Linked DNA regions of Homo sapiens: all the other regions are linked to region 1. The links are contacts of gene promoters, found by promoter capture Hi-C in blood cells and fetal thymus (Javierre and others, 2016). All regions are on one chromosome and are shown on one strand. Each heading gives the region's core, a stretch centred on a gene start or on the middle of the fragment in contact. The rest is flanking DNA. Distances are from core to core; before and after follow the strand shown. Region 1 holds the start of DNAJC8 (DnaJ heat shock protein family (Hsp40) member C8). Region 2 overlaps EYA3 (EYA transcriptional coactivator and phosphatase 3). Region 3 overlaps EYA3 (EYA transcriptional coactivator and phosphatase 3). Region 4 overlaps EYA3 (EYA transcriptional coactivator and phosphatase 3). Region 5 overlaps EYA3 (EYA transcriptional coactivator and phosphatase 3). Region 6 holds the start of EYA3 (EYA transcriptional coactivator and phosphatase 3).

Region 1 (4,261 bases), core at 1,207-3,706:
GACTGTAATCGCAGCTACTCAGGAGGCTGAGACAGGAGAATTGGCTTGAACCCGGGAGGCGGAGGTTGCAGTGAGCCGAGATTGCGCAACTGCACTCCAGCCTGGTGACAAAGCGAGACTCCGTCTCAAAACAAAAAAAAAAAAAAGAAAACCCAAATTATAACTTGACCACCTCAGGCACAGTTTCCTAGGACCTCTTGAGGCTGTGTTTCCCCAAGCTATGGTCACTCATCTTGGCTCAGAATAAACCTTTTAAAAATATTTTAGTTTGTTTTTTTCGTTAGCAACATATTGTTGAATGGGCTTAATAACTGCACTTTTGGCAATGTGGTGCAATGCAGTAGAAAAGAGCAGGCCAGGCGCGGTGGCTCACACCTGTAATCCCAGCACTTTGGGAGGCCGAGGCGGGCAGATCACCTGAGGTTGGGAATTCGAGACCAGCTTGACCAACATGGAGAAACCCCATCTCTACTAAAAAAAAAATATGAAAAATTAGCTGGGCATGGTGGCGCATATCTGTAATCCCAGCTACTCGGGAGGCTGAGGCAGGAGAATCGCTTGAACCTGAGAGGCAGGGGGTGCAGTGAGCTGAGATCACGCCATTGCACTCCAGCCTGGTCAACAAGAGAGAAACTGTCTCAAAAATAAATAAATAAAAATAAAAAATAAATTAGCTAGGCGTGGTGGCACATGCCTGTAATCCCAGCTACTTGGGAGGCTGAGGCAGGAGAATGCTTGAACCCGGGAGGCTGAGGTTGCGGTGAGCTGAGATCACGCCATTGCACTGCGGCCTGGGTAACAAGAGCGAAACTCTGTCTCAAAAAAAAAAAAAAAAAAAAAAAAAAAGGATAAGTAGGAGTCTAGGGAAAGCTTGACCTTAACCTCCCTTCATCCATCTAATGAATGTGAACAAGACAACAGTAGTCTTTACTCTCATGAAGTTTATAGCTCTTCTCTAACTCATTTTCTCTTCTCTGTTTCTTCTTTTTTAGATGAGAGAATTGGGCCAGATTATCTACCTGATTGATGATTATAAAAATACCTTCTTTGGGGCTGGGCGTGGTGTCTCACACCTGTAATCCCAGCACTTCGGGAGGCCGAGGCGCATGGATCATGAGGTCAGGAGTTCGAGATCAGCCTGACTAACTCCGTCTCTACTAAAAATACAAAAATCAGCCGGGCGTGGTGACATGCGCCTGTAATCTCAGCTACTCAGGAGGTTGAGGCAGGAGAATTGCTTGAACCTGGGAGGCGGCGGTTGCAGTGAGCCAAGATCATGCCACTGCACTCCAGCCTGGGCAACAGAGCAAGCCTCTGCCTCAAAAAAACAAAACAAAACAAAACCTTCTTTGTTTTCTATGAAATAGTAAAACTGGCTTTATTGATTATATTTTAGTTGAGAAAATAGCAGCCCTACCTGGTATTTTGTTTAATTCCATTTATGTGAAATACGTATTCACATATTGTTTAACTCCATTTATGTGAAATATCCAGAATAGGTAAATCCATATAGATAGAACACAGATTGCTTGTTTTCAGGGACTGGGGAGAGGGGGCGAATAGGGAGTAACTGCTTAATAGGTACTAGGTCTCCTCGGCCAGGCGCGGTGGCTCACGCCTGTAATCCCCGCACTTTGGGAGGCCAAGGCGAGCGGATTACGACGTCAGGAGATCGTAGACCATCCTGGCCAACATGGTGAACATCCGGCTTTACTAAAAATATAAAAATTAGCGGGGCATGGTGGCGTTTGTCTGTAATCTCAGCTACTCGGGAGGCTAAGGCAGAATTTCTGGAACCGGGGAGGCGCCACTGCACTCCAGCCTGGGTGACAGAGTGAGACTCCGTCTAAAAAAAAAAAGTAGATACTAAGTCTCCTTTTGAGGTGATGAAACTATTTTGGAACCAGGTAGACATGGTGGTTGCAGAACATTGTGAATGTTCTGAAGACAGCTGAGCCGGTCCGGCGCGGTGGCTCATGCCTGTAATTCCTGTACTTTGGGAGGCCTGGGCAACATGGCAAGACCCCGTCTCCACAAAAGTACATAAAATTAGCCGGGCATGGTGGCGCGCGCCTGCAGTCCCAGCTACTCGGGAGGCTGAAGTGAGAGGATCGCTTGAGCTTGGGAGGTCGAGGCTGCAGTGAGCTGTGATTGCACCACTCGACTCCAGCCTGGACGACAGAGATCCTGTCTCAAAAATAAATAAATAAATAAACCCACTGAATTATTCACTTTTTCTTTTATTCTTCTTATTATTTTTTACCTAACAATAACTTAAGCACATTATTTACTTTAAAGTGGTTAATTATATGTTATGTGTAATTCGTTTAAATTTTAAAAAGCCCACCTACTTTTAAAGTGCCTGGCTGGGCTGCGAGCCCTTTAAGAACCTCTCAGACGGGAGGCGGGGCTAGAGGAGCGGACCTGTAAGAATCACGTGAGGCGACGCCTGCGCAGAAGGGTCACGTGGTGGCTGGGCCGGGGAAATGGCGGCTTCAGGAGAGAGCGGGACTTCAGGCGGCGGAGGCAGCACCGAGGAAGCATTTATGACCTTCTACAGTGAGGTGAACACAGAGTGAGGAGTAGTGGCACCGGGGCGACCGCTCCCGGATCTGCTTTCCCAGTGGACAAAGGCAGTGGCCGCCTGGCCTGGACCGTTGGGCGATTCCTTCAGTCCAGTCTTCGGGGTGGCGGGGGTCTGGGGGTGTGTGAGCGTCTCCCACTGATAGCTGCTGGGAGATCCCCCGGGGCAACGAAAGAGGGAATGGTGTTCGATCTATCGAGGGAGGTGGCGAGTGTGTCCAACATAGTGCGGGCGCGCGGGCAGAGTGCCCCAAGTCCGCGGAGTCGGGGGCTGGCAGAGGCTGGGCCCTTCCTGGGAGTGACTTAGCCTTCTTGGCCCCCGAGACGTTTCTTAGTCCTTTGTAATGAGTTGTTTTAGTGGTTGTTTCTGCCATTCACGAACGCCAGGCACTGTGTATCATGCCAGTTAGGCATTATATTACCCCCATTTTACAGATGACGAACCTGAGCTTTAGGGAGGTGAAATAGTTTGGGGCCTTACAGTAGGTTACAGCTTGCTTGGTGGTATGTTAGGACAGCAGTGGGCTTGTTCTGAGCCTCCTTTACTATCGCATCTCCAGCGCATAGTATGTAGTGGATGCTCAGTAAATATTTGTTGAGTGAATGAATGAATAAATGAAATAAAAGCATGCCGTTTGGAGTCAGAATCTCAGATTAAATTATTGCAAGGGGCTGGGCACAGTGGCTCACATCTGTAATCCCAGCACTTTGGGAGGCCCAGGCGGGAGGAACCCAAAAGCTCGAGGCTGCAGTGACCTATGATCGGACCACTGCACTCCATTTTTGGCGAGAGTGAGACCCTGTCTCTTTAAAAAGAAGGAAAAAAAGGATAGAAAAAAAAATTCTTGGTTGGGCGCGGTGGCTCACGCCTGTAATCCCAGCACTTTGGGAGGCCGAGACGGGCGGATCACGAGGTCAGGAGATCGAGACCACGGTGAAACCCCGTCTCTACTAGAAATACAAAAAATTAGCTGGGCCTGGTAGTGGGCGCCTGTAGTCCCAGCCACTCGGGAGGCTGAGGCAGGAGAATGGCGTGAACCCGGGAGGCAGAGCTTGCAGTGAGCAGAGATCGCGCCACTGCACTCCAGCTTGGGTGACAGAGCGAGAGACTGTCTAAAAAAGAAAAAAATTCTTGGAAGACAGTTAACCTGACTGGACTGGGATTGAATTCTTTTTTTTTTTCCTAAGGCGGAGTTTTGCTCTTGTTGCCCAGGCCTGGAGTGCAGTGGCACGATCTTGGCCCACTGCAACCTCTGCCTCCCTGGTTCAAGTGATTCTCTCGCCTCAGCCTCCCGAGTAGCTGGGATTACAGGCGCCTGCCACCACGCCTGGCTAATTTTTGTATTTTTGGTAGAGACGGGGGTTTCACCATGTTGGCCAGACTGGTCTTGATCTCCTGACTTAAGGTCCTCCCGCCTCGGCCTCCCAAAGTTGCTGGGATTACAGGCTTGAGCCACCACGCCTGGCCGGGATTGAATTTGTTCAAGACATTAATTTTGCAGATCTTCATATTCCACATCTGTAAAAACAAGAGAGTTAATTTAATTTAATTTATTTATTTTGAGACAGAGCCTCACTCTTGCCCAAGCTGGAATGCACAACCTCTGCCTTCTGGGCTCAAGTGATTCTCCCACATCAGTAGCTGGGACTACAAGCTCAGGCCACCATGCCTGGCTGA
Region 2 (4,261 bases), core at 1,196-3,695, 250 kb after region 1:
TTCAGCCCACAAGTTTGAGGCTGCAGTGAGCTATGATTGTGCCACTGTACTTCAGCCTGGATGGCATAGCAAGACTTTGTCTCATAAATAAGTAAATAAATACAGCAACTGTGAAGTGTTAAGATTTTACAAAGCTTCGTTGGTGGTAGGCATTTTTTTCTTTTTTTTTTTTTTTTGAGACAGGGTCTCACCAGGCTAGAGTTCAGTGATCACGACTCACTACAGCCTCGACCTCCCTGGCTCAAGCAACCCTCCCACCTCAGCTTTTCGAGTAGCTTGGGATTATAGATGCACACCGCCATGCCTAACTTTTCCTATTTTTTGTAGAAATGGGGTCTCACTTTGTTGTCAAGGCTGGTAATTCTCCATGCTTTTTTGTATGGTTGAATTATTTCATTTACAAGGGATTGGGTGGAAGGGAACATATATGAAAGCGCTCCCTTCAGATATTGTTCCTGCTGCCGGTTGCTTTATGTATATCATAGGAACCCAGAGCACTCACTGAGCCTCCCACATCTGAAAGACAGATTTTCTGTAGTGCTTATTATACTGAGACCTGGCACCCGCAGGCTCATCAGGCTAATGGAAATGATCTCATTCCCTCTGTCAGTAAGTGTGCTTATTTGGTATTTTTCCTCAGTCTCAGTTCATCCAGAGCTAATTTGCAAAGCTGCAGTGGGATCTGGTGCTATGGTAACCACAGTAGGAGGCTTGAGGCTTTTCTTCACAGAACTGTGAAATGGGAGCAAGGAGAAGAAATACTTTTTCACTTCCTCTGAAATGATAGCAAAATATGGTTCTCTTAATGGCCATTCTGTGATTTGGGGACATTAAAGAGAATTCTCAAAATAATTTCTGAAAATGTCAGAAGTTTTTTTTGTTTTGGGGGGTTTTCTTGAGACAGGGTCTCACTCTGGTACCTAGGCTGGAGTGCAGTGGCACGATTATAGCCCATTGCAACCTTAACCTTCCCACGCTCAAGCGATCCACCCACATCAGCCTCCTGAGTAGCCAGGACTTCAGGCGTGTTCCACCACCATACCCAGCTAATTTTTTAATTTTTTGTAGGGAAAAGGTCCCACTGTGTTGCCCAAGCTAATCTCAAACTCTTGTGCTCAAGTAATCCTCCTGCCTTAGGCCTCCCAAAGTGCTGGGATTGCAGACTTGAGCCACCGCTCCTGGCTAGAAATATTTTAATAGAGAAAACCCAGGGACTAATATTCTCCAAAGATTTGGCTGATCTTACAGTTCACCAGCTTCAATTGCTTGACATATGGTAAACTGATTAATCATTGGCCTCATCCTCCTGAACAGGAAAGCTCATATCCAGAAATGGAAGTATTTTACCAACTGTATTGGAGTGAGTCCTGTTTTCATGGAGCTGCTTCTTTACTTTGAGCTGTTAATAACTCTCTTGGCCTCTTAATCCTTTTAAAGGAGACATTACAGAGTATATTTCATCCTTGATCATTGCATGCCAGGACAGTGAAAATGTCTGTGTTCTTATCCTCAAAATATGAGTTACTGCCTTTGTTGAGTCTTACAAGAAAGTCAAACTGACTCACTTAAAAAAGTTTTTTGCTACAGACAGATCATAGTAGACTGTGCATCTGGTGGAGGTTGGCTTAGTTTGTAAAGCTGTAATGGGTGAAATGGAATTAAAGAACTCTTCAACACCATGAACATAATAAGAATTTATTATTAGTTGAATGGTTTAATGTTTGAACTGAATTGAGGCATAAGACCTGGACTACAGTCCTCCACTGAATCATTTGTGAGATTAATATGAATTTACTCAGCAAACATTGATTGAATCCCTCATATGAATGTAAGGCATGACAATTCTATTGTAAAATATTAGCACTAAAAGAGACCCAAGTGCACCTAAGCCAAGCCTTGTATTGTAAGTGGCCAGCTGAGCCCAGAGTGATCTAGTGTCTGGTCCAGTTGACTAGTCCGTCTGTTTTGAAGTGCCACTGGGTTAAGGATGTCAAAGATTTGCAGTTACATATCTGCACAACTTCTGTGCCAAGTAGGACTTCTGCGTATGGAAGTATAAGTTCTGGCCAATTATGTTACAGTTATCTTAGATTTGTATATTTATATATTACAGTGATTTTCCAGCAGATGGCAGTCAAATGTCTTGAGGAAGAGGCAGCTTTATCTTATTTACACAGGAACCCTGGTGCTAAGTCACTCTGTTGGGCAAGGGGAAAGAACAAGAAGGTTAATAGAGCAGGATGAAGAAGAAAGCCAAAGTTAGGACCTTGTTTAACTGAAGAAGGTGGCAGAAGCAGGGAGATAAAAAGAGCAAGGGATATAACTTCTTTTTATTTATACAAATAAAGTATCTTTCCCACAGCAGTATGATCTGTGTATGTTTTAGGTGTTGGTTGCAGATGGGATTTGAGTTTTGATACACTGCCATGTTTCTCAAAACTGTCTGCAGTTCTGAGAAATGGATTTAAATCACCCATTTCCCAAGGTCAATTTCAGTGATGCAGTATCTTGGTTACAACTACAAGGTATAGTAAGTAAGGAGGTTCCAGATATGACAAATGTTGATGCCATATTTATTGGTCACTGTTCTCAGTTCTATTCTGGGGCTGTTCTCTCACTGAAAGACGTAAGGCCTATACCCAGGACTGTTTCTGGGAAATGAAGAATTGGAGGGAAATGGCTTTTTGTTTGTTATTGTTTCTAACAAGAAATCAGGGCCTTGTGTTTTCACTTCTCTTTTCTACCCTAAAACATTTCACCCCAAAAATCATTCATTCATTATGACACAATGACCAGAGCCTAGATTTGGAGTCAGGGGCCCCAAGTTCTAGCTACTTGCTTGTTTGTGATCTAGGGGCAAGTCACTAAACCTATTAATCTTTCCCATTTATAGAAATTCCCTCACACTAAGATCTTAGGGACTTCACCCTCAACGTGAAGGTTAAAATAAGTTTTTGGGTTGTTTGTTTGTTTGTTTTGAGACAGAGTTCGCTCTTGTTGCCCAGGCTGGAGTGCGATGGCATGATCTCGGCTCACTGCAACCTCCGCCTCCCGGGTTCAAGCGATTCTCCTGCCTCAGCCTCCCCAGTAGCTGGGATTACAGGCACGCGCCGCCATGCCCAGCTAATTTTGTTTTTTAGTAGAGACGGGGTTTCTCCATGTTGGTCAGGCTGGTCTCAAATTCCCGACCTCAGGTGATTCGCCCGCCTCGGTCTCCCAAAGTGCTGGGATTACAGGCTTGAGCCACCATGCCCGGCCAAGTTATTTTAATGGCACAACTTCACATTCTTTGGGCAGAGGGTCTACTGGATCTCTAGCTCCCATCCCTACTCCCCAGCAAGCAAACTACATGGGCTGTCACTTAGTCCACCTAAGCACAGGCAGGTGAACCTAGCAGCAGCCCTCTTCTTTGGTTTTGAAAAGAAGAGAAGAGTATTCTAACAGGAAATTTCTTTTTCTCATCAGGTAAGGAGAGCTGCTTTGAGAGAATTGTGTCAAGGTTTGGAAAGAAAGTCACATATGTAGTGATTGGAGATGGACGAGATGAAGAAATTGCAGCCAAACAGGTAACCATGGTAAAGAAAAATAGTCTATGTGGTTGTACATCGAGTAATGAGAAAAATGGGAAAAACTACAAAATCTTAGCAATCTATTATGCATTTATAATATTTTCTCTTTCTTCCTCTCCCATTTTTCTTTAAAGAAAAAGAGGGTCTTTTTTTTCTCCAGATGGAGTTTTTCCTCTTAAGTTTTTAGATCCATCCCTTCCTCTTCCTCCCTGTCACTCAAGAATCTTAAAATCTTTAAGCCCTTCTACAGGGATCCCATCATTAAACCTGAGATGTGCCCCATCTTCCATCTTCAAAGACAGTGCCTTCTCAAGCATCAGACTTGACTGCAAAAAGGCTAATCATTCTTTCTTTTCCATGCTTCAAGTTCTCAGACAGTACAACCAATAGCTGTTTCTGTAGAGAAAGTCTTTCCTGCCTTTGAGCCCTGGAAAGATTGTTCTGATGTTAACCCCACCACTATACAGGTCCCAACTTCAGGTCACCCCTTCTTTTTTTCTTTTTTCTTTTTTTTTCTGTTTTTGAGATAGAGTCTCACTCTATCTCCCAGGCTGGAATGCAGTGGCACAGTCTTGGCTCACTGCAACCTCCGCCTCCTGGGTTCAAGCAATTTTCCTTCCTCAGCCTCCCAAGTGGCTGGGACTACAGGCACCCGCCACCATGCCCAACTAATTTTTGTATTTTTAGTAGAG
Region 3 (4,261 bases), core at 1,160-3,659, 240 kb after region 1:
ATTTCTAGAAACTAAAGTCCTGAAATTTTTAACTGTCCATATCTTCTCTATTTTACAATCCTGGATTCTCATAACTGTGAATGAAATTGCATCAATGATAGTTTGAAGCACAGTTGGGAGCTCGTGTGTTTTGGCCTTGACCTAAAATAATTTTGAAATTTGAAGATTAGAACCAGGACTGTGACTACCAAGTCAAGCTGATTTTTTCTTATTGTCTTCTAGGACCCAACAGTAGTGATTGGCTCAGGTTTAACAATGGAAGAAATGATTTTTGAAGTGGCTGATACTCATCTATTTTTCAATGACTTAGAGGTAAGCATTTTAAATTGTTTCTGTGCTTCACTGAGACACTTCATTCAATAACTATTTAGAGCTTTTGCTTATTATATTAGAAGATATGTGTTTAGATAGGGTGGATATGGAGAGGCCAGCTGGCCACTAAGGCATACATACATAGTCTTAGAGAAATAGTACTTGTGGTTGGGTCACCACAGTTTTGGTTCTGACATTCAATTTTATTGGCTCAAAAATTTGATTTTTGTTAGTTTATTTGGAGGTGATCTAGCACTAGGGGAAAGGCCAACCCATCAGGCAAAACACTGACATATAAACCAATATTCTAACTTAATAATCTATATTAAATAATATATATAAAGTGAGTTTGATTATTTGTACTCTCAATTATGTTTTGACTTTTCTTCCATTTTACATTCTTAAAGGATAGTCTCCTGATTTGTCGAATCTATAAATGGTTACTCTAACCCATCATATTTTATACATATTTGTTGTTCATATGTAGGTTAACCTTGATATTCAGAATAATTTTATAGTTAGGTGCCAGAAAAACCAGGAAACACTAAGAGCTTCATGGTGAAATTTTTTGGCTTTGACATTTGAGTTCACCTTTAAGGTGAACATGGTGTAGCAGAAGGAGCACAGGACAGGGAGTCAGAAGACCAGAATGTGAATCTCACATAGGGAAAGTTATGTTCCCATTCTGGGCCTCAGTTATGCAGTCATCCTACACAGGAAACTACCAACACTGATTACCATCTATGGAGAGGGATGAGTTGCCAGGACACAAAGGTGGGAGGGAGCACACTTTTCACTTCATGTCCTTTGAATTTTGAGCTGTGTAGTACATGTTTTACCTAGTTTTAAAAATAGTGAAAATTTTAAAGTAAAGTAATATAGGATTTTATAGGCTGGGCGTGGTGGCTCATGCCTGTAATCCCAAAACTTTGGGAGGCCGAGGCGGGCAGATCACTTGAGGTCAGGAGTTCGAGACCAGCCTGAGCACCATGGTGAAACCCCGTCTCTACCAAAAATACAAAAATTAGCCGGGCATGGTGGCGCACACCTGTAATCCCAGCTACTCAGGAGGCTGAGGCAGGAGAATTGCTTGAACCCAGAAGGGGAAGGTTGCAGTGAGCAAAGATTGCACTACTGCACTCCAGCCTGGGCAGCAGAGAGAGACTCTGTCTTTAAAATAAAAAATAAAAAGATAGTATTTTATAAACACAAAGTAATCATTTTTTTAATCTTTTTTTTTTTTTTAGTAATAGAGATGGGGTTTCACTGTATTGCCCAGGCTGGTCTCAAACTCCTGAGCTCAAGTGATCCTCCCACCTTGGCCTCCCAAAGTACTGGGATTACCGGCGTGAGCACTGCACCCAGCCAACACAAAGTAATCCCATCTCTTTTAAAATAAACGTCTGTTCTACTCAACAGACAATTCTTCAATAAATTAATAGTGCCCCGAGCTCCAGTACTTTTGTCTAAACTCCATAATGCTTTAATCTTCCCTCAACTTCATATGTTGATAAATTAGGACATCATAGTTTTTATTCAGCAAACATTTATTGAAAACCTACTACATGCCAATAATTATTGCCAATTGTATTTGTAATGATTTTCTAGACATAGTCCTCACTCAGGAACTGAAAGTTCTGTGAAGAATTTGACCTGAATGTGTTCCTGCCCCCCAGGTCAGTGCTTCTCAACTTTAGGGGGCATAAGAATCACCTGGGGAGCTTCTTAAAAGTGGAGATTCTAGGACTTCACTCTCAGAAATTCTGATTCAAGTAGGTCTGGGATGGACCCAAGAATATGCATTTTTAAAAAACTTCCCCAGAGGATTCTGATGCAGGTACCCTAAGTGGTATCAGAGGAGTACATCCATCAGTTAGGTAGTGGGCGGCATTTTATGTCAGTAGTAGCATGGGCTTGGTGGAAAGAACCTTGGATTAGAAGCGGGGGAAAAAAAGAAGCAGAAAACCTGGGTTATTTCTAGTCTCTTTCTGCCACTCACTAATTGTATGACTTTGAGAAAATCATTTCACCTCACTTTTAAAACATGAGGAGATTGATTTAGATGACCTCTTCTAACTCCTGACTTTGAAGTTAGAAATTTCAGTCATTCTCGGTTTTGATACCACACTACCAGCGTCTGTTTTGTCTATAAAAATTTATTGGGCACAACCTACGTAAGGATACTGGACTAGATCAGAGAGATGCAAAGGAGATGTGAGATGTGGCTCCTGCCCCAAGAGACCTGCATTGTAATAGGACTTACAGTCTGGTGTAGGACATAAGAACATTTGAAGTGTAAGGGAGCTTGTGCTTATTCCCATGAGCTGTTGGAGAAATGAAATATTGAGATAGGAGTAGAAACAAGGGATGGGATAGTTACAGAACTCATGAAGACTGGGATGTGAATCAGGTCTTAAGAGGAATTGGACAGCAAGGGGTGTGAGAGTGATCACCCACACATAAGAGATTCCATAAGGCATTTCATTATCCTGCCACTGTATATGGTCTTTTTATAGTATGTCATGATGGTAATATCACTTCTACTCCCTGGACTGAAGTAATATGTTTTGTCTTTTAACAGGAGTGTGACCAGGTACATGTGGAAGATGTGGCTTCTGATGACAATGGCCAAGACTTGAGGTGATAAACATAATGATTCTTGAACACCAGTACACCTGTTATGTGCAAGATCTGTCTGTCTAGGTTTGGAGGAAAACAAAGATAAATAGAATATATCTCTGAAAGAGCTCACAACCTGTTAGAGGACATAGAAACAAACATAGTTAACCGTGATGTATAGTGTGAGAAGGTGACAATAGAAAATGCCGTGGAGCACGAGAAGAAAGAATTCTGTTGGGATAGGGAGTGGGTAGTGCCAACACTGGAGAGGTTTCTCAGTGGAGTAGCATTAAAGCAGAACATTAAAGAATGGGTAGCAAGCCAGGCACAGTGGCTCACACCTGTAATTGCAGCATCTTAGAAGCGCGAGGCAGGAGGATCACTTGAGTCTTGGAGTTCAAGACCAGCCTGGACAACACAGGGAGATCCCATCTCTGTAAGGTAGTCTTCCACATTTTATTATAGTGAAAGTTAAACCAAGGAGATCTCAGTGGCAAAATGCTTGCTCAGGCTCCTCATTCCTCTTTGTTCTGGCCCACTAGCCTTAGCTAAGAAAGATCCAAAAATTTATCTAGCTTAAAGACTTATAAGAAAAAAACCTGTCACATCTTTTCATATTAGTTTGTTTGAATGTTTATCCCTTTTTATAAGTAAAATGTTCTTCCCAGTAACTACCCCAAAATTCAGTGTTCTATCCACCAGTTCTCAAATACGGAGTAGAACTGGACATACCACCTTAATAAGGACCTAGTCAGGTAGAGCTGAGAATATTGGAAGGTTTCACTTTCAGGTACAGCATCCAGTTGTACATGTTGTGGTGTCACATGGTCATGGAGGGCACAATTCTTATGACACTTTACTGTTCTTTTCAGGGAAAAGTCTGGTCTGAAGAGTTTATATTCTGCTCTGAACCCCAGTTGTTTTTTTTCCTCTTATACGTGTGGCTAACCAGTAATTACTTATCATGTCTTAGCAGCTATATTTTCTTAAGCACAGAATCTCACTCTTAGCATATTGGGATCTATTTTAACTTTTGATTGAACCAAGTTGTTCAGTCATTTTTAGATCTTTACTTATGAAATATTAATCCTTCCTAGTTTGTATAATTGTATTATCTGTTGCTATGCAACAAATTACTCCAGAGTTTAGTACCTTAAAACAGTTAAATGGCCAGATGCAGTGGCTTACGCCTGTAATCCCAGCACTTCAGGAGGCCAGTGCGGGCCAATCACTTGAGGTCAGGAGTTCGAGACTAGCCTGGCTAACATGGCGAAACCCCGTCTCTACTAAAAATACAAAAATTAGCCAGGCGTGGTGGCATGCGCCTGTA
Region 4 (4,261 bases), core at 1,181-3,680, 210 kb after region 1:
TAATTATTGACTAACTTCCCTCACTAGAATTTAAACTCCTTGAGGGCCAGGACTTTGTCTTACTATTTTATCCTTCAGTGGCTGAAATGGTTTCTAGGCACATAGTTGACCCTGATATACTTAATGGGTTTGCTGAATGAATGAGTGGCACATGTTAGAAATAATTTGGCTTAGTTGGAGAAAAAAGTGTTATTAAGCCCTATGAACTTTCTGGGTCAGCAGACCAAGTTCCCCTATAATAAAAGCCAACTATTGCTCAGAGAAATTTGTGATTTTAATACAGTACTTGTTAAAAACTCAGAGTTATCAACTAGCTAATCAAGCCATTAAACTTTCTAGCCGGGATATAATAAGAGTTTATGGCTAGTTGTTTTTAAGGTCTACCATTTTACCTCCAGTACAATTCATTAAGTGGTTTGAAAATTGTTAGATTTGTAAAACCACCTTGTCAATCAGAGTACATTTTCCCCCATAGAGATCAGATATGACTGAGTTGTACCTCCCACCATTATTAAGTTATGGAGAAGTAGCCGGGCGTGGTGGCTCATGCCTGTAATCCCAGCACTTTGGGAGGCTGAGGTGGGTGGATCACCTGAGGTCAGGTGTTCAAGACCACCCTGACCAACATGGTGAAACCCATCTCTACTAAAAAAAATGCAGCATTAGCCGGGCTTGGTGGTGCATGTCTGTAATCTCAGCTACCTGGGAAACTGAGGCAGGAGGATTCTTGAACCCGGGAGGCGGAGGTTGCAGTGAGCCGAGACTACCATTGCACTCTAGCCTGGGCAACAAGAGTGATACTCATCTCAAAAAAAAGAAAAAAAGGATATGGAGAAGGTAGGACAGAATTAAAGATCAATAGGTGAAAAAGAGGATTGTATGCCAGGACCAGGGCCAGAAGAAAACTGAACTAAAAATGGACTTGCTGGGGAAGATAAATGATTAAATCAATTCTTTATTTTATTTCCCACCTTAAATCACCTGTGTTCAGTTTTATTGCAGGCCTGCCTAGGATAATGTACTGATAACAAAATCTGGAAACCATTCAAAATTCTTTTCCTACAAGAATGGTTAAAACCATTTACAGAGTCAGTTACCCTGTATATTGTCATGTTTTGATGCTTCCTCTTAGGAAAAAGGATGGCTTAAGCCACAGTAGGAAAGAAGGTGAATATTGGTTGAAAGAAAATACCTTCTGTAAAGCTATAAAACCTATTTCATTTAGTTGTTATGTTTAGGAAAGTAAGCCCTTAAGAGTCCTTTAGTTCCCCTGAAGCAAAACGTGCTATAGAAAATAAAGTTACTCTGGATAGTTAGGAAATTTGTTTTTGTTTTTGTTGTTTTAATTTTTTTTAATTTATTTTTTGAGACTGAGTCACTCTGTCGCCCAGGCTGGAGTGCAGTGGCGCGATCTCAGCTCACTGCAACCTCTGCCTCCCGAGTTTAAGTGATTCTCCTGCCTCAGCCTCCTGCATAGCTGGGATTACAGGTGCACACCATCACACCTGGTTAATTTTTGTATTTTTAGTGGAGATGGGGTTTCATCATGTTGGCTAGGCTGGTCTCAAACTCTTGACCTCAGGTGATCCACCCACTTCAGGCTCCCAAAGTGCTGGGGTTACAGGCGTGAGCCACCACGCACCTGGCCATAGTTAGGGAATTTGAACCCTAGCTTAGCTGCTGACCCTGAGGAAGAAGCACTGGATGAAGAATTGGGAGATCCAAGTTGTCATTTTGGTTATCTTCCATTATTTTTGCTGCTGTGGACAAGTTACTTTAATTCTTCTTTGTCCTAGGTTCTTCATCTTAAAGCTGGGGTTGCAGCAATAGCTGTAACTGAACTTACTGTCTTCTGGATTGTCTTCTAAGCCGAGTACCCTTAGGGAAAGGGATGAAAATTATCTAATTTTGACCAGAGCACTTAAGTTTCTATTGCATTTGTTCTCCTGCCCTGTTCTCAATGGAAGTTTTCTTACTAATTTTCTCTCTGGGGGACTTTGTTAATGGGGCAGGTAGTCAGTTAGTCAGGTCTACCTGATGGTGAACCCATATGGTGTGTGTACCTGCAGTAGGAACCATGTCTAAGTGTGTTTATGATAAATGAGGACAAGGAGTTTGAGAACAGTACTGATAATATCAGTTACATTGTTCACCTGAGAAAAGTCACTGGTTAGTGCTAGTCATTGAGATTTTGATTAAAACCCTAGTAGAATGAACCTATGACAGAAGAAGTATAAAACTTAACCCAAATTACTTGTCTTTATTTTTATTGTTTTATGTGAATGGAAATCAGCATTTTCTTTCTTTTTTTTCTTTTTTCTTTTCTTTTTTTTTGAGACAGAGTCTTGCTCTGTCACCCAGGCTGTAGTGCAGTCATGCGATTTTGGCTCATTGCAACCTCCACTTCCTGAGTTCAAGCGATTCTCATGTCTCAGCCTCCTGAGTAACTGGGATTACAGGCCCGTGCCCACCATACCCAGTTCATTTTTATATTTTTAGTAGAGATGGGGTTTCACCACGTTGGCAAGGCTGGTCTCAAACTCCTGGCCTCAAATGATCTGCCTGCCTCGGCCTCCGAAAGTGCTGGGATACAGGCATGAGCCACCACACCTGGCCTCAAATTACTTAAGACAGCCCAAGTATCATATAAGGTACATTTTTATCTGACCAGAGTAATATTTAATATTTTCTGAGTTTTTCCAGGCTCATTGTTAAAGTCTCTAAATGCTATGTCATTGTGTTTATTGATCCACATTAGTAATCTATTATTTGAGTAGAACTCAAGAAGCAATTCTAAATGCTTTGGAATTTGGAGGACCAGCTCTATTTCTCATGTAATTATGTTGTATTAGGAAAGGCGTAACTTGGGGCAAGTGACAGCAAACAATATCACAGTGTAAGATTTACCAGAGTTCTACTGCTTTACAGTAGGTCACATTGCAGGTGAGTCATTTTTCAGCCTCTGGAGAAGATGGGCTGGAGGAATTGGATTTAGCTGTGATTTCATTGATATTATTAGTATGAGCTGTGAATTGAATATATATCCTTTTAGGCCTTTAATAAGAAGAATTGAAGACTCAAGTTGAAACAGAAAGATGTTTCAAATGTTTTGTTTTTAACCAAGTGTAAATGTAGCTATCCCACACAAAAAAGCAAAACGAGTGTTTGTTTCCTTTGCCAATGTTGTTTATCTCCTTATAAATCTGTTCACTTAAAACACATCTATTTTCAGTTTCTTCTAACCTTTTACATAATATCTTTAATATCTTTTAACCCCATCAATCCTCTAGCTTCAAGCACAAATGCCAGCCTGATATCTACTTCTTCTACAATTGCCAATATTCCAGCAGCAGCAGTAGCCAGCATCTCAAACCAGGTATGATGCTACCTTTGTTCATCCTGTTTGATAGAGTTCATCCAGCTTGCTCTTTCTTCTTTCCATGGTCAATTTGCCTATCTAAGAAACAACCAGGAATAGTATGGGCTGTGGAGACTTTTTTCTGGATACCTTCAGAACTCGGACCCTGGATGGCATCTTAGGTTACTGTCTAGTTTTTGTTGTTCCTCTGCTGGGTCTCTCTAGAATATGGTTATGTCTGTTTCTTTACTGTATTTGTCTTCACTTCCTACTCTGCCCCTACTAGAATGTAAGCTGCATGAAGGTAGGGATTTATTTTTCTGTTTTGTTCATTTACATATTCCCAGAGTATAGAAAAATGCCTGCCACTTACATCAAAGGCACTTGATAAATATTTATGGAATGAACAACTCATTCTTTATGAATTTTTTGTGGTCTATTCTTGATCACTGTTATGTTAACTATGCTTAGGAGATCACTGGTAACACCTTCAGTGTTCTAGAGTTTTTTATTTTTGTTTTGATTTGTTTTCTCTACAGCAATTATCATCACCACTGTCTCCTTGGATCTTTTCCTGGCTACAGTTAACATTACTATTCTGGTTATTATACTGGTTTTGCTTTTTTTTTTTTTTTTTTTAAGATGGAGTCTCACTCACTCTGTCGCCCAGGCTGGAGTACAGTGGTGCGATCTTGGCTCACTGCAACCTCTGCCTCTCAGGTTCAAGTGATTATCCTGCCTCAGCCTCCTGAGTAGCTGGAACTATAGTCATGTGCCACCATGCCCAGCTAATTTTTGTGTTTTTAGTAGAGATGAGGTTTCACATGTTGGCCAGGCTGGTCTCAAACTCCTGACTTAGAGTGAACCGCACCCGCCTTGGCCTCCCAAAGTGCTGGGATTACA
Region 5 (4,261 bases), core at 1,190-3,689, 200 kb after region 1:
GCATCTATTCTGCTGTTGATTATGCATAGCAGTAGCAGTGGTTTTAAAATAAGATTGGGTGCCTCCCCCAAATCTGTTTTCCTGCAAGTCATTCTTAAGGCTTTTACTCAATATAGTAAGCACTCAAAGAACAAATAAGCTGAAGTAGAATAATGTGGTTTTCCAGACATAAAGCTTGCTTTTTAAGTTTGCCTATCAGCATAGCCGAAAGCTTAGAAGGTTGCTTCATCTATTATTTTAGATCAGTAATGGGTAAAGGTAGAGATCCTTACCAACCTTCAGCTCTTTTCCATACCCCACCCTTCTTTTTTTAACTGCCTCTGGAAGTCTATAAACACATGTATAAACAAAAAAGTGAGATATTTTCTACCACATAGTCTTTCTATCTGGTGTCCAAGCTGTATTCTGTTAATTAGTTTGAAAGACTATACAGTGAGATGTGCAGTTTTCCCATTCCATTTTCGAAATGTTCTAACTTTTTAACCTGGTGATATTATCTTTCTTTCAGTTATGACATGCACCGATTACATCCCTCGCTCATCCAATGATTATACCTCACAAATGTATTCTGCAAAGTAAGTTGAATAATTATTTCCAAAATGCATATGCTTTTTCTGTAGATTCATTGCAAAATTTAATATTATTTTTCCTCTAAAATAATAGATATTTAAATTATTTTTACCTCTCTTATTCTATCGTCATTCCAATTTTTAATTCCCTCTAAATATAGTCTATGTAGTATCCTTTTAAAAAGTAGATGGTGTCTGCAATGGATCATTTTACACAAAAGCTTACTCTAAAATGAGTAGGCACTGAACATGCAAAATAGTGTTAGTGATCAACCATATCATTGATTGACCTCTGATCATTTTCTCTGTCCTGTACCTTGACATATAGCATACAGATTAATAAAAACAAGACTGAATTTCTCAGTCCAATCTGTGTTCGGTTTTTTTTTTTTTTTTTTTTTTTTTAAGATAGAATCTCACTCTGTTTGTTGCCCAGGCTGGAGTGCAGTGGCACGATCTTGGCTCACTGCAACCTCCACCTCCCGGGTTCAAGTGATTCTCCTGCCTCAGCCTCCCGGATAGCTGGGACTACAGGCATGCCACCACGCCCAGCTAATTTTTGTATTTTTTAGTAGAGATGGGATTTCACCATGTTGACCAGGCTGTTTTCAAACGGCTGACCTCAGGTGATCTGCCTACCTCGCAAAGTGCTGGGATTACAGTCGTGAGCCATCACGCCCAGCCTGTGTTCAGTTTCTTGATTGAGGAATGTCCTCAGAGTAGAACCGGGCTTGAAGTTAGACAGGTTTGGTGGGTTAGTCACTAAGAGGTTATGTTTTGGGCCTTCATGGGGTAAGATCAGCATTAATATCAGCCAGGTTTTTCATCTCCAAAGTGGGTAGGTGCAGAACAGTGTGTATACCAAGCTACCTATTGTGCGTAATAAAGAGTGGACCTATGCATACAAAGACACATACAAGTGCATTTATTAAGCCAGGATATGTGCTTATGTGCTTACAGCTGCTGGATACATAAAGAAATTGGTAACAAAAGCAAGAGATACTTTATGGGGCTGTTATAAAAAGGAAACTGTCTTTCTTTTCCCTGGTTATATCTGTTTTTACCTTTTGAATTTTCATTAATTAAAAAATAAACTAATTAAAAAGTCAACCCAATGAGTTCTTCTAATTTTTAATCTGGTATTAACACTAATGGTGTCCTTGGGCTAATCATTTTCATGTGACTTTCTTCTGTGAAATAACTGAACCTATTCTCTGAGATTATTATGAAGAAATTAGATACTAAATGTGAAAACACATTTGAGCTTTGGGCTACAAAGACTCTGCATGAAAAAGGACATTATGGTCTTTACCATATCTGGAGATTAATCCATTTAAGGTCACTAAGATTTAAATCATTCCCATGTGACTTGAGTAACAACTCTAACCTGAGCTATTTCCTGGACTCAGATCTGGCTAAGAAGAATAGTTATTTTTAAATTCAGTTTTTTAGAATGTACTGAGATGTTAATATGTTGCAGATTCCAAATTCATTTATTCATTCAGAAAGTATTTGCATACCTGCTACATTCAGAATTCCTTATTAGCTATCTTAATTATTCTATCTTAATTCAGACCTCTTTATTACTTATCTGAACTGTTTTTTAACTGGATCTCCATTTCCAGTTTCTCCTCCCTTTCTAAACCATTTTACAAAGCAGTGTCAAAATAATCTTTATTAAAGAACAGCTCTGATCTTGTCACTCTTTGCTCAATAATTTCAGTGGCTCTCAGTTTCAGATTTGCCTTTTAGCCTGGCATTCAAGGTCTTTGCTTCCTTTCTCTCGCTACTTCTCTTAATATACTTCCCTCAGTTATCTGTGCTCTTTGCAGGCCGAAGCCCTTGCTTTCCTTACTCTATACCCTCCAGGACTTTTTTCTTGTCCTAGAACACCCTTTCTCTCCCAGTTCTGTGCCTCTTATCTGCTCAGCTAGTATATCACTTCTTTATGGCCTTTCTTCATTTTCCTCTTCCCCCAAAGGTGAAAAAAAAAATTTCCCCTTTAAAACACCCCCTGCTATATTTTATTATGCTTACATGGTACAAATAGCATTTTCTTTTTTACTTATATATACAGTGTAACTCACCAAATGAGATAATTGGTATCTAAAAATTCAGTGCAATATCATGGATGAAACAATTATATCTGCTAGCTAGTGTAAAGTCCCAGGAGTTTCACTGCTGAAATCTCTAGCTATCCCTGATATGGTGGCACCAACTAGTGGCAGTATGCCCTGACTTAAATATCATTGAGGAGATTGAGTCCTGTCTGGAACTTCCCAGATTTTGTTACTTACCTGGGTTCTGTTTTGTAGACTTGATTTGAGGATATTGGAACCCATCTCTACTTCCGTTTTTTGATGTGTTTGCTTGCCTTTTCTCCACCAGCCTCACCCGCTTTTCCAGTCTCACTTTCCCTCTCAGAACTTTAGTTTGGTTCAAGGGGCAGGGTGGAGAATGAGAGCCAATTGCCAATCTTGTTCTCTTAGTTTTCTATTATATTAGGATTTTATTCTAGATGTAGGCATAAGAGCATGAATAAGTTTAATCCATCCTTGTGTCTCACATAGGGCCATGCATGTAGCACACTAGAAATGTTTGTAGGATAATTGGAACTTGGAGGGATGTTTGGAACTATTAAATTTTTCATAAAATTGTTCCTTGGGTTGATGATAGGAGAACGTAGAAAGGAGGAAAGACTTCTACTTTCTGATCATAAGAGCCATTTTAGGCCGGGCGCAGTGGCTCACGCCTGTAATCCCAGCAGTTTGGGAGGCCAAGGTGGGTGGATCACTTGAGGTCGGGAGTTCGAGGCCAGCCTGGCCAACATGGTGAAACACCGTCTCTACTAAAAATACAAAAATTAGCCAGGCATGGTGGTGGGTGCCTGTAATCCCAGGTATTTGGGAGGCTGAGGCAGAAGAATTGCTTGAACCGGGGAGGCAGAGGCTGCAATGAGTTGAGATCATGCCACTGCACTCCAGCCTGGGCGACAGAGCAAGACTCTGTCTCAAAAATAAAAAATTTTTGAAAAGAGCCATTTTATGTGGAAGATTAGTCTCCTTGTTGCAGATTCTTTGCTGTTAGTGGTGGTAGCTATTTTACCTATTTTTCGTTACTAAAGTAAATCACACAAAAGTTTTTGTTTTCATGAAATTTTCCAGACCTTATGCACATATTCTCTCAGTTCCTGTTTCGGAAACTGCTTACCCTGGACAGACTCAATACCAGACACTACAGCAGACTCAACCCTATGCTGTCTACCCTCAGGCAACCCAAACGTATGGACTACCTCCTTTTGGTAAGGCACTGTATTGTAAACAATTTCTAAGAATGTTGATTTTATTCCGCAGAAACTTTGATCAGCCATGCATCATTCTTTACAAAGCACTTAGTTACATATGTGGTTGGGTATGCAACTTTGCAACAGTATGTTTGATGCATGTAATAAAAAAATCATAGTTTTTCAGTACTCATTTAGCTATTTTGTATGTACTAAGTCTTGACCCTGAAGCTTGGAATCTTTAAGTGTTTGGTAAATTCTTTGAGGATTTGCTATTGATTTGACTTACTTTATATACAATGTAGTATGGTACTATCATTAGGAAAGCATAATAAATATATTTCGAGGTGGCCAATTTCTTGCTAACACCAGGTAGTCTGAATATGTATCATAGTTTGCTCTGTGGGGT
Region 6 (4,261 bases), core at 976-3,475, 140 kb after region 1:
TTACTCTGAAATAGGAATGCATTGGAGGAAGGATATGATCTAATTAGGGTTTTAACAGGAGCCCATTGCTACTATATTAATAGATTGTGGGGGCCGGGCGTGGAGGCTCACACCTGTAATCCCAGCACTTTGGGAGGCTGAGGCGGGTGGATCACTTGAGGCCAGGAGTTCAAGACCAGTCTGGCCAACATGGCAAAACCCCGTCTCTACTAAAAATATAACAATTAGCCGCGCGTGCTGGCGGGCCCCTGTAATCCCAGCTATTCAGGAGGCTGAGGCAGGAGAACCCAGGAGGCAGAGGTTGCACTGAGCCAAGATCAGGCCAGTACACTCCAGCCTGGGTGACAGAGGGAGGCTCTGTCTGAAAAAAAAAAAAAAAAAAAGATTGTGGGAAGGCAAGAGTATAAATAGGGCACTCACAGTCACTGACTGACTGGTTTATACCAACGGAGGCAGTAAATGGTCAGGTTCTGGACAGATTTTGAAGGCAAATCTTGCAGAACTTGCTGATGGAGTACATGTGGGATATGAGAGAGGAGTTAAGGATCTTAGTAAATGATGTTGCTTAGTACATTGTTGTCATCGGAAGAGGTGATCAAATATACAGTCAAAAAATGTAGAAAAAATAGTTTTTTTTCTGGATTTTGTTATTCGTGGTATTTGTGAGCTAATAAAAATGTTTGTAATTTTTCTCATTATAAAAGGTTCACTTTTATATCTAATATTGTATTTGTAATTTTGGATTTTTTTTTTTTTTAGACAGTCTCGCTCTGTTGCCCAGGCTGGAGTGCAGTGGCATAATCATAACTCACCGCAGCCTCTACCTCCTGGGCTCAGTTAGGTGCGTGCCACCACACCTGGCTAATTTTTCTGGGTTTTTTTTGTTGTTGTTTTGCTTTGTTTGTTTTGTAGAGACAGGGTCTAATTTTGTTGCCCAGGTGATCTCCAACTCCGGGGCTCAAGCAACCGGTCGACCTCGGCGTCCCAAAGTGCTAGGATTTCAGGCATGAGCCACTGTGCCTGGCCTTGATTATTTTAAAGAGGGCCCCCAAATTGAATAAACGTCAAGTCTCCACAAAGCCTGAATTCAACCTTGCTTCTAGCCCATACTTGGGTTGTAATTTAAAATTAACGAAACATTTAAGAATTTTGCTTCCGAAAACAGTGTGCACGAAGTGAATTGTAAGCCTAATATAATATTAAGAATAAACTAAATTTGGGGATAAAAAGATCACCTTGGGGCTCACGCCTGTAATCCCAGCACTTTGGGAGGCCAAGGGATCAACCGAGCTCCAGAGTTGGAGACCAGCCTGGGCAACATGGCGAAACCCCGTCTCTACCGAAAAATACAAAAATTAGCCGGGCGTGGTGGTGCGCGCCGGTAGTCTTAGCTACTCGGGAGGCTGAGGTGGGAGGATCACTTGAACCCAGGAGGCGGGGGTTGCAGTGAGCCGAGATCGCGCCACTGCACTCCAGCCTGGGCGACAGAGCAAGACTCTGTCTCAAAAAAAGAAAAAAAAAAAGGGATGGGCGCGGTGGCTCACGCCTGTAATCTCAGCACTTTGGGAGGCCCAGGCGGGCGGATCACCTGAGGTCGGGAGTTCAAGACCAGCCTGACCAACATGGAGAAACCCCGTCTCTACTAAAACTACAAAATTAGCCGGGCGTGGTGGCACATGCCTGTAATCCCAGCTACTCGAAAGGCTGAGGCAGGAGGATCGCTTGAACCCGGGAGGCGGAGGTTGCAGTGAGCCGAGATCGCGCCATTGCACTCCAGCCTGGGCAACAAGAGCGAAACTCCGTCTCAAAAAAAAAAAAAAAAAAAGATCACCTTGGGCTAGCCTCCCAAATGTCTTCCAAAACTTCCCACTCATTCTCCTTCCCAGTTTTTCTAAATCTACCAAATGCACCCAACACTTCTTACGTTCCTTTTAGCCAGGTAGGGATTACGCGCATTTTTAAAGACCTCCTTAAAAGTGAAGGCTGTAGTACCGTCAGGACTGCCTAGCGCTCACCCAGAAGCTGCTTGTCTCCGAGGCACTAAGAGGGGCGTGGCCATGGGCGTGGCTCGCCGGGCCGGCGGAGTGGGCGGAGCCTAAAAGCTTCCCCGCCCGGTCAGACTCAACACATGCGCCCAGAGGTTTCTAGTGGAACGAGGTGTGGATTGTGAGGTGACTCTGGCCGCTTACTTCCGGTTCCTAGCGATGCGCATCCGGGTCACGCTAACGCCGCGGTTTCCTCCGCTCGATTGGTTCTACTGTGGGTCTGGACTGATCTCCATGTCCTGTTGTGGGGCTTTTACAGCCTTTGGGTGAGTCTCAGCTGCCAACAGGGTCTGAGCGCAGCCGGGCGAGCACAGCGTGAAGGGGGATGGGTCTAGAGTTCTGCCTCGGTCCTTGTGGGTGGGAGTCTCTTCGCCTGTCCCTTGTCACTGCAGTGCTTCACTCACCTCAGCCCTTTCCTTCACGCTGGCCTCGCCTTATTCACCTCAGCTTAGCCTTCTCGCGCTTCCGTGCCTCTGTCGCCTCGCTGTTTTTCCTCAGCCTCATCAGTCCTTTTCCAACCTCGGTTTCTTGCCTTACGCCTCAGCGCTTCTCTCAGCCACTGCCTCTCCTTTTTTCTCCTCCTCCCTTCTTTTAGAACCTCTTTTCCCCTACCCCTGATCTGGGATCTCAGCGTTCTTTCACCTAGCGAGACGGCCCAGCTTCTCATTGTGCTCACTCTTCACCACGAGAAACTGAGCCTCTCCCTAGGGTCCTAGTTCCTTGTCCCCCAACTTTCTTCAGCTTTGATCCTTCCTCCTGGGACCAGTAGGTGACAGTGCTTCTCCTGGGGTTCTTCTGCCTGTCCTTAGCTAGAGGAGAGCTTTGCCAAAGCCCCGAAATGGGAAGACTTCCCCAGCCTGGGGGAAGTTTTGCCTTAAGGCGCCGGGTTAGACTGAACTCTGGTAGCTTCCATAGTTAGGGTACAACAAAGGCGTTCCTAGTTCTTCGCTTTACCTCAGTTTTGGGGCTCTCTCAAGAGCAGCTAACAGGTGGCAGGCACACGGTACTGCTAGCAGTTGGGCTGGCGCGATCTTGTTAATTGACAAGTCATGAAGAAGTTCTGTCAGTTTTGTGTTCCCATGAGAATGGATGTGCACAGCTGAGGCAAAAACGCCAATATTTTGGGACGTTCAGCTCTGTTTTCGGCATGGACGCTTCTTACAGGACACTTGTGATGATAGAGGACAGAATTTGTGGAGAGATCATTAGCCCCAGATTTATGAATTTATTGTGTTGTTTCCGAAAAGTGGTCTGCTGAAGAGTTCACTATAGTAATTTCAAAGTAATCTTTAAACTTAGTATGCACATATGCATTTTTTCATTTTTACTGTATTAAGTTTTCTATTTGTCTTCCTCTTCCTTCATTAGCCAGACTTTACTTAGAATTACATTACTTAGAAGTACATTACTTAGAATATTCTTCTAACTTTTGTATTTTTTTTTCCTTACCATTTCCACCTTTGTAGTAAAACTATCATTTTCTCATTTTGAGATTTAGGGCACCTTTCTTAAATTTCCCTAGAGGTTTAAAGTCATTTATAACATGAAGGAATTGCATTTAATAATGGTTAGTGCTCCCTTTCCCAAATTTTGTGATCTAGAGTATAGGCTTGGGTAATCTTTATTTTTTCCCGATGTTTATAGTGTATATCTAGCACTTGATTGCAGCGGTTTTTGTGTCATCAGTTTCTGTAATCTATAAATTGTGCTTTAAAATGTAGTACTTCAGTATGAACTTAAATACAGCTTTGAGCACCTGCTTATCTTTTGGCTAATTAGCTATAGAAAAATCTTCATTATATGATACATATACATATAAGAGTGTATAGTCCTTGGCTTATTCCAAAATTGGGCTCTCTTCAGCTGTTTTTAGCAAAGGACTTTGGAGCTTGGCCATGTTAGTCCTAGAAGCCACGGAGAAGGACCCTTCTGATTGGCTTTCAGGACTTATCTAACTGCTAAGTGAAGCCTCTTTGAAAGTTTCTTATGTGTACCTCCTCCCCACTACCTAGCTCTAGCTTCTGTCCAACCTGGCCTATTTTCCATCCTTCAAAACAAACCCCAATGTGTATGGCTTACTCCAGCTGCTTCCTTACCTTCAGGTTTGTGGGCTTCATTTAAGCCATGGGAATGCCAGCTTAATTAATGCAGATTAAGATAAGAACATTAAACCCCAAAAATGATGGGAAATCACTCTGTCTTCAAAACAATAGAAA

What was found. Contacts are between HindIII fragments. The CHiCAGO score rates a contact against its expected background, and 5 or more counts as called.
Region 2: a contact is called between a fragment that was not itself captured here and the fragment with the promoter of DNAJC8 in region 1, in 3 of 17 cell types (M2 macrophages, M0 macrophages and M1 macrophages). The highest score is 8.4, in M2 macrophages.
Region 3: a fragment that was not itself captured here is called in contact with the fragment with the promoter of DNAJC8 in region 1 in 3 of 17 cell types (M0 macrophages, M1 macrophages and M2 macrophages); the score reaches 8.4 in M0 macrophages.
Region 4: a contact is called between a fragment that was not itself captured here and the fragment with the promoter of DNAJC8 in region 1, in 3 of 17 cell types (M2 macrophages, M0 macrophages and M1 macrophages). The highest score is 10.7, in M2 macrophages.
Region 5: a fragment that was not itself captured here is called in contact with the fragment with the promoter of DNAJC8 in region 1 in 3 of 17 cell types (M0 macrophages, M2 macrophages and M1 macrophages); the score reaches 10.9 in M0 macrophages.
Region 6: a contact is called between the fragment with the promoter of EYA3 here and the fragment with the promoter of DNAJC8 in region 1, in 6 of 17 cell types (M2 macrophages, M1 macrophages, endothelial precursors and 3 more). The highest score is 13.3, in M2 macrophages.

What each region holds. Positions count from the first base shown.
Region 1 is chr1:28,231,224-28,235,484 of GRCh38, reverse strand. DNAJC8 (DnaJ heat shock protein family (Hsp40) member C8) reads left to right here and starts at 2,456. Exons shown (of 9, transcript NM_014280.3): 1 at 2,456-2,564. The coding sequence starts at 2,487. RefSeq lists a silencer at 1-123 and enhancers at 1-462, 2,233-2,766. The HindIII fragment of the contact is 12,029 bases long and covers 873-4,261 here.
Region 2 is chr1:27,977,679-27,981,939 of GRCh38, reverse strand. It overlaps EYA3 (EYA transcriptional coactivator and phosphatase 3), which reads left to right. Exons shown (of 18, transcript NM_001990.4): 17 at 3,466-3,566. Among named protein-coding and RNA genes, the nearest start is that of XKR8, 20 kb to the right of the region's middle. The HindIII fragment of the contact is 4,618 bases long and covers 137-4,261 here.
Region 3 is chr1:27,996,011-28,000,271 of GRCh38, reverse strand. EYA3 (EYA transcriptional coactivator and phosphatase 3) reads left to right here. Exons shown (of 18, transcript NM_001990.4): 12 at 223-312; 13 at 2,894-2,952. Among named protein-coding and RNA genes, the nearest start is that of XKR8, 38 kb to the right of the region's middle. The HindIII fragment of the contact is 7,042 bases long and covers 1-4,261 here.
Region 4 is chr1:28,016,269-28,020,529 of GRCh38, reverse strand. It overlaps EYA3 (EYA transcriptional coactivator and phosphatase 3), which reads left to right. Exons shown (of 18, transcript NM_001990.4): 8 at 3,291-3,376. Among named protein-coding and RNA genes, the nearest start is that of XKR8, 58 kb to the right of the region's middle. The HindIII fragment of the contact is 5,795 bases long and covers 1-4,261 here.
Region 5 is chr1:28,035,153-28,039,413 of GRCh38, reverse strand. It overlaps EYA3 (EYA transcriptional coactivator and phosphatase 3), which reads left to right. Exons shown (of 18, transcript NM_001990.4): 5 at 509-575; 6 at 3,734-3,870. Among named protein-coding and RNA genes, the nearest start is that of EYA3, 51 kb to the left of the region's middle. The HindIII fragment of the contact is 3,293 bases long and covers 793-4,085 here.
Region 6 is chr1:28,086,574-28,090,834 of GRCh38, reverse strand. It overlaps EYA3 (EYA transcriptional coactivator and phosphatase 3), which reads left to right and starts at 2,225. Exons shown (of 18, transcript NM_001990.4): 1 at 2,225-2,311. RefSeq lists enhancers at 2,286-2,355, 2,566-2,625. The HindIII fragment of the contact is 6,678 bases long and covers 2,105-4,261 here.